Linked DNA regions of Homo sapiens: region 2 is linked to region 1. The links are contacts of gene promoters, found by promoter capture Hi-C in human tissues and cell types (Jung and others, 2019). All regions are on one chromosome and are shown on one strand. The core of a region is centred on a gene start or on the middle of the fragment in contact, and the rest is flanking DNA. Distances in the headings are between cores, read along the strand shown. Region 1 holds the start of SLC23A1 (solute carrier family 23 member 1). Region 2 holds the start of DNAJC18 (DnaJ heat shock protein family (Hsp40) member C18).

Region 1 (3,005 bases), core at 131-2,630:
GAGTGGTGATGCCCACGCACGTGAAGATGGTGCCGATGAGCTGACTAACCATGTGCTGGTCGTGGCCCACACACAGCGCCTCAGCCAGCAGGAAGGGCACGGCGATGGTACCACTGAAGCATGTCAGGTAGTGCTGGGCAGAGGGAGACAGCAGAGTGCATGAGGCAGGACCCCAGAGCTCCAGGGAGAGGGGACAACCTAGTGTCCTCATGCCTGCCTCAGCGGGCCTGGAACCGGCTGCCTGCCCAGGACTGGCAGTCCCCACAAGGGATTCCCAGAGAGCTACTGCTGACCACTCTGGGGGTCACTAATTTCCACTCAAGATATTCCTGCGGCTTCCGTGGAGTCGGCTCTGCTCCCTGTCACCAACACCCCACCTGGCAAGCGTCACACTCCCCCAGGGAGTTCATCTTCTTTCAGGATTCAGCCTCTTCCCGACTCCTGCTTGCTGACAGCCACTGTGCTGACCTCAGGTTTTTCTTCCTGTTACCCAAGATACTCCCTGCTGGCCAGGGAGGGGCTGGAGTCCCCGGGGAGTGTGCAGAGTGAGGGCGGGGAGGCCCTGGGGGACCCACCTGGAAGCCCAGCAGGATGCACAGGTACCAAGGTGGCACGTCCTCGATCTTGTACAACATGTCAAACTTAGGCTCTGTGGGTAGCGGGGTCGAGGGGTCCCTGGTGGTTTCATGCTGGAGGCAGCAGAGATAAGTAGCTTAGGGTGAAGTGATGGGGACAGGCAAAATCCATTCTGCCCCAGAATCAATCAGGCAGCCCAAGTGGCTTGTCAGCAACTGAGAGCGGGGTTCCCGCCCTCCCCAACAGTCCATCCACCCGGGTGCCACTTGGCCTGGCCACAGTTTTCTCCCACTTTGCATTGCTTCCCGCAGGGATGAGTCTACTGTGCCAGCTTCTAGAGCCCTCAGGACCTGCCATTTTAGCCAGGGAAGTGGACCCTTAAGTCAGAAGTCTTGGAGACCACAGGAGAGGGGGCCAAGAGGGCTCAAGACTGTGGACAAGTCCAATCCGGTCCCACCTCTGCCCCCTGGAGATCCTTGGGGTGTCACTGGCCGGGAGATTAGGCCTCTCCTGAACCCCAACCTGGAGTCAGCCAGTCCCAAAGCTGCAGGCTCCTTCACCCCCACCTCCACCCATCCCCCAGTTGCCACATTCAATTTGGGACAGTCACTCTTATCAAGTTCATCAGAACGTTTATCTCTGGCCTCCAGGAAGAAGGCCTGCACAGGCCCTCCAGCCCCCCACCCCCCCTGCCCCCCCTAGCCCCCACCCCCAGCCCCCAGCACCTGTGTCCGGCCCTCGAGGTCCTCCTGGGCCCTCATCTTTGGGGCACAGGTTTGAGCAGTTCCTGAGGAGAAGAGGGGATGACTTGACAAAGGCCAAGGAGGAGGACTTTACTCCACATATCAGGCATTGTTTGAAGTAAATCTGTAACCAGATGCCCAGCTCTGGATTGCGAAAGGGGGGCCCGGGCAGAGGTAATGTATTAACTCTCACTAGGACAGTAAAAGCCACCCAAGCCTCTGCCACATGTGCCCTTCCCTGCCCACATCTGCGCCTGGGCGCTGGACCTGTTCTTGTTTCCCAAGAGAGGGCCAGAGTCGAGGGGGTGAGGACCAGAAGTTTACCAAGCCCCAGGTGAGCGGAGAAAGAGGGAGTGGAAACAGGCACTTATTATGTAACCCCCTGTATGAGGCCCTTCCCCACTGATTAATAACTAGTTCATCATTATCATCATCATCATAGTCATTCTCGTTATTGAGGAATGGCCTTGGCCTTGTGCCAAGAAACATGGATCTGCACTGTCCCAAGTAACCCCTGTGCTGGGCGGTATTAACCCCTTTAACAGCGAAGGAAACAGATTCAGTAGATGTGATTTGACCCAAGCCATGCAGATAGCAAGTTTGCAGAAACCAATCCTAAAATTCAGGTTGGTCTGAGCTGCCTTGCCCTCACCACCCTGCACCCCTCAGGGTCCCTGAGGCAGGCAGCAGATGGGCCTCTGCAGGCAGAGCTGCCTAGGCTGGCCCAGCCGGGTCTGCACTCTGTGTCAGGGCACAGATCCCTTTCCCCTCCCAGCCACATAATTTCTGGGACCCAGTGCAAAGTAAGAATGTGAGGCCTTTATTCCAAAAGTATAAAGAATTTAAAGATAGCAGGAGCATTAGATGGAGCGTGGGGCCTTTCTATGCACCAAGCCCTGTGTGACTGCCCATCACCTAGCCCAGGAAGGCAGTCCTATGCCCAGCCTGTCTCCCCTCCTGGCAGGCCCAGCCCAGCCTGGCCCTAGGGCCTGAGATGGCAGAGGGGGACATGGGGAGGGGCCCTAAGAACTCAGGCTCCTCAGCTGGTGAGGGCTGGGCCTGAGGTCCCCATTCTGTTCCCCTCTGGGCTGCCCCAGCCCCAGCACTCTAGAGCCCACCTACTTCTGGGTCGCTGTGCCCATGGCCAGGCCCTGCCTGAAGGGCCAAGGGGCAGCACCGCTCTCCAGCTGGGCAGCAGCTTCATGCCACAGCACTGAGTCCGCCCGCCTGCCGGTGTCCACACTGTTCCTCTGTCCGCCTGTCCTCTCCTCTCCCTCTTGGCTACTGCTCCCAATTTCCAAAGTTGCTGGACCAGTTTGAAGCCTCTGCAACTCCCCAGCACTTTTCTCTCCAACTTCTCCTCCCAGAACTCCCCAGGGTGCTGTGGAGACCAAGCCCGACCCCCTGCAGATACGGCTCCATGGACACTCAATTCAACCCAAACCACACAACACGCATAGAGAACAAGGTGGAGAACACGGTCCCAGATCCACAGTAGCATGAAGGGGCCCACACACCCAGAGCTGATGCAGCCTCTCTAATCACCCCACAGAAACACAGGTCCACGTCATGGGTGCCCGGCTCCACACCCTGTCCTGAAAGCTTAGTGGGTTTCTTGGGCCCTGACTTTCCTCCTGGTGTCTAGGGTTTCTCTCCTGAGTGAAGGCCACGGATGGTGGGGCTTCA
Region 2 (3,267 bases), core at 116-2,615, 55 kb after region 1:
TAGTACGTCGTGTTTTCATTTTCACTCATCTCAAAGCATTTTCTAGCTTTCCTAGTGATTTATTCTGTGACTTGCTTGCTTATTAGGAGCTTGTAGTTTAATTTCCACATATTTGTGAATTTCTCAAATTTCCCTTTGTTTTTGATTTCAGAGAACATACACTGTATGATTTCAATCTTTTTAAATTTATTGAGGCTTGTTTTATGACCTAAGATATGGTCTATCCTGGAGAATATTCTATGTATCCTTAAGAAGAAAATCGTTCTGTTGTTGTTGAAAGAATGTCCTGTAGATGTGTGTTGTGTCTAGTCGGTTTCTGCTGCCTCTCTTAAAGTAGAAGCAGGGTAGTCAGTTCATGTTATACCCTAATATTCCACTTCTATTCAGTCTTCCCTCTGAGGTCAAGAAGCTAGTATGCCTCAATTATCATCATCATCATCATTATCATCAGTCAATACTTACATAGCACATCCAGGCACTCTTCTAAGCACTTTCCATAAAATCACTCATTTAATCTCACCACATGCTCACCTTTGTACCCCAAGCAGCTGTTCCTCACTATACGTGGAGTTCCCCTCACCCTGCCGGGTCTGAGTCCACTCATTCTCAGACTTCTTTTCCTTTTGTGCCTTCATGCAGTTACAGCAGCCACAGGGGTCATGACTCTCAGGAGGTGTGTCTTCTGGGTATTTGTTTCTTCTAACTGCGTCAATGTAAGCTGCAAACAACAGCCCCTCCATTAGGTCTCCATCTGACCCTGAAAATCAACTTTGCAACCTGCCTTTCCTCTCTGGGAGGCTGCTCGTAAGCATGAGAAGGTAAGCATGATGGCCAGGGCTAGAGGCGTCATGCTGACTTTTAAGCACTCATACAAAGCTGAATAAACATGTTTCTCTGTGGTCCGTGGTCAGAAGAGACACTGCTCGTAAAATAGTATTTTTTGTTGCAGTGCCTCCCACCCCTAAAATTTAAAGTAGAGAGGAGTTCAATTCTTTTACACTAACAATTATAGAACTAATATATACCAAGGAACTTGGCTAGAAGATCAAGAGGGCGGATGGGTAAGATCTACTCCTGACCACAAAGAGGTTAGTTTAATGCAAGCTTGTCCAACCCGCGGCCCACAGGTGGCATGTGGCCCAGCACGGCTTTGAGCTCAATACAAATTCGTAAACTTTCTTAGAACATTATGAGGGCCGGGCGCGGTGGCTCACGCCTGTAATCCCAGCACTTTGGGAGGCCAAGGCGGGCGGATCACGAGGTCAGGAGATCGAGACCATCCTGGCTAACACCGTGAAACTCCGTCTCTACTAAAAATACAACAAATTAGCCGGGCGTGGTGGCAGGCGCCTGTAGTCCCAGCTACTCGGGAGGCTGAGGCAGGAGAATGGCGTGAACCCGGGAGGCGGAGGTTGCAGTGAGCCGAGATCGCGCTACTGCACTCCAGCCTGGGTGATAGAGCGAGACTCCGTCTCAAAAAAAAAAAAAAGAACATTATGAGATTTTTTTTTGCAATTTTTTTAAAGTTCATTAGCTGTCATCAGTTAGTTATTTAGTCGTCAGTTAGTGTATTTTATGTGTGGCCCAAGACAATTCTTCTTCCAATGTGGTCCAGGGAAGCCAAAAGATTGGATACCCCTGGTTTAAAGGGAGAAGATTCAATAACAACACCTGCAGAATGTAAAGAGGGTCATAAGCAATACAGTCAAAAGGGGCAGAGCACTCATGTCTTCTCTGGAGGACCTGAGAAAGGCTTTAACAACATCTTTCTTCCGCTTAACATCCCTCAGCTACCTCCACCCACTGCTCCTGGACAGTCTTCCTCTAAGTCGGCCTGGCTAACTCCGACGCATCCTTCTTGTCACCATTTGTAACACTTTCTGCAAGAAACCTCCCTTGACAGCCAGTCTGCGTTAGGTACCTTGTAAGTGTGCTCTCCAAATCCCTGACCTTGCTGTGTAGCCCAGGCGTTTTGTATTATTCGCCCGTTTTGTAATTGGCTGTTCAGTCGTCAAACTCTCTCAGTGGGCTGCGAGTTTTGTGAGCTAAGGGACCCATGTCAGTCAAATCCCCACTGCAGAATCAGCATTAGGCGGGGCACACAATAGGTATTGGATCAATATTTTTTGCCTGACTGTAGGGTGGAAAAGGCTGGTCCTGATGCCGGCTGGAGCGACATGATCAAACAGGGACTGAAGGTCAGGTGGCCCAGTTAGGCGAAAGATAAGGGCCAGGTTAGCAAGCTGCGGAGAGACCGCAGCACCCCACGGGCCCTCCAGTCACCTTGGCATGGGCGGGGCCTGACAGCTGCGGGCCCTGGGCGGGGCACGGGCGGGGGCGGGGCTGGGGGCCGGAGGCAACAAGTCGTCACCGGTGACTCTGGGCTCGCGGTCGGTCCCCAGCTTCCCTACCCCATCCGCAACCCTACTCAGGCTCAGCATCTTTTCACAGGCCTCTATCCATCACCTCAGACCCAGGATCTCAGCCCTTGTGCGTCTTCAGGATCCTCATCCCTGATCTCTCCCGAAGGCCGCCCTATCCCTCCTTCAGGCGGGGACCTAGTACCTTCCGTCCAGCGCTCCCCGCTGCCCAGAGTCGCCGCCATATCGGTTCCCAATCAGCAGGTCCGCCGAGCCTCCCCCGTGCCCGAGGCTGAAAGAGAAGGGGGCGCGGAGCGCGGGGCACGCTGGTCATTGTAGTCCAGTCCATATGAGCTCCCGGGGCACTGGACTACAACTCCCGGCAGGCTCTGCGCCAGAGGCCGTGGGAGACGCAGAGAAGTGCTCGACCTTCGTCAGGAGATCTGTGGAAGAGTGCTGCTGCCAGCTGCCAGCTGCCTGCAGCACGGCTCTTGGCTTTTCCTCATTTGTAGAGTTGGGATAGTGGCTTCGGCCCTGCCTAACCCTAGGGACATCCAAGGAGGGGCGACTGAAGTCCTGCCTGGAAAGGGCTTCGCAAACTATAGGCTAGAGGGTGACAGTATGACTATTATGCTCCTCAGGGATGTCTTTTTGAAGCATACGCTAATGCCTGTTCTGTGCAGTCAGTGGTAGGCCCTGGAGATTCAGAGATGGGTTTTGGGGATGCGGAACCCAGCCTTTGGAAGCTTGAGTCAGGAAAATAGAAAAGTGATGTAGATTTATGGGGTTGGAGGGCAATCTCAGTATGTCCCTACTGCCCCAGCTCCTCAGGCACTGGACATCAGAGGGTATCGGGGTGGAGAAAGAAGACATGGAAAGGTATTGGGGCCGGCATGAAGAGCCTCCA

What was found. Contacts are between HindIII fragments. The study calls those that stand out against the background at their distance.
Region 2: a contact is called between a fragment that was not itself captured here and the fragment with the promoter of SLC23A1 in region 1, in 1 of the 25 tissues and cell types used here (adrenal gland).

The regions. Positions count from the first base shown.
Region 1 is chr5:139,381,917-139,384,921 of GRCh38, forward strand. It overlaps SLC23A1 (solute carrier family 23 member 1), which reads right to left and starts at 1,381. Exons shown (of 15, transcript NM_005847.5): 1 at 1,302-1,381; 2 at 576-689; 3 at 1-133. The coding sequence starts at 1,337. RefSeq lists enhancers at 342-391, 1,992-2,061, 2,082-2,251, 2,632-2,801 and a silencer at 682-741. The HindIII fragment of the contact is 7,898 bases long and covers 268-3,005 here.
Region 2 is chr5:139,436,841-139,440,107 of GRCh38, forward strand. It overlaps DNAJC18 (DnaJ heat shock protein family (Hsp40) member C18), which reads right to left and starts at 2,685. Exons shown (of 8, transcript NM_152686.4): 1 at 2,566-2,685; 2 at 532-718. The coding sequence starts at 2,605. RefSeq lists enhancers at 755-1,255, 2,556-3,055 and a silencer at 2,243-2,352. The HindIII fragment of the contact is 5,325 bases long and covers 1-3,267 here.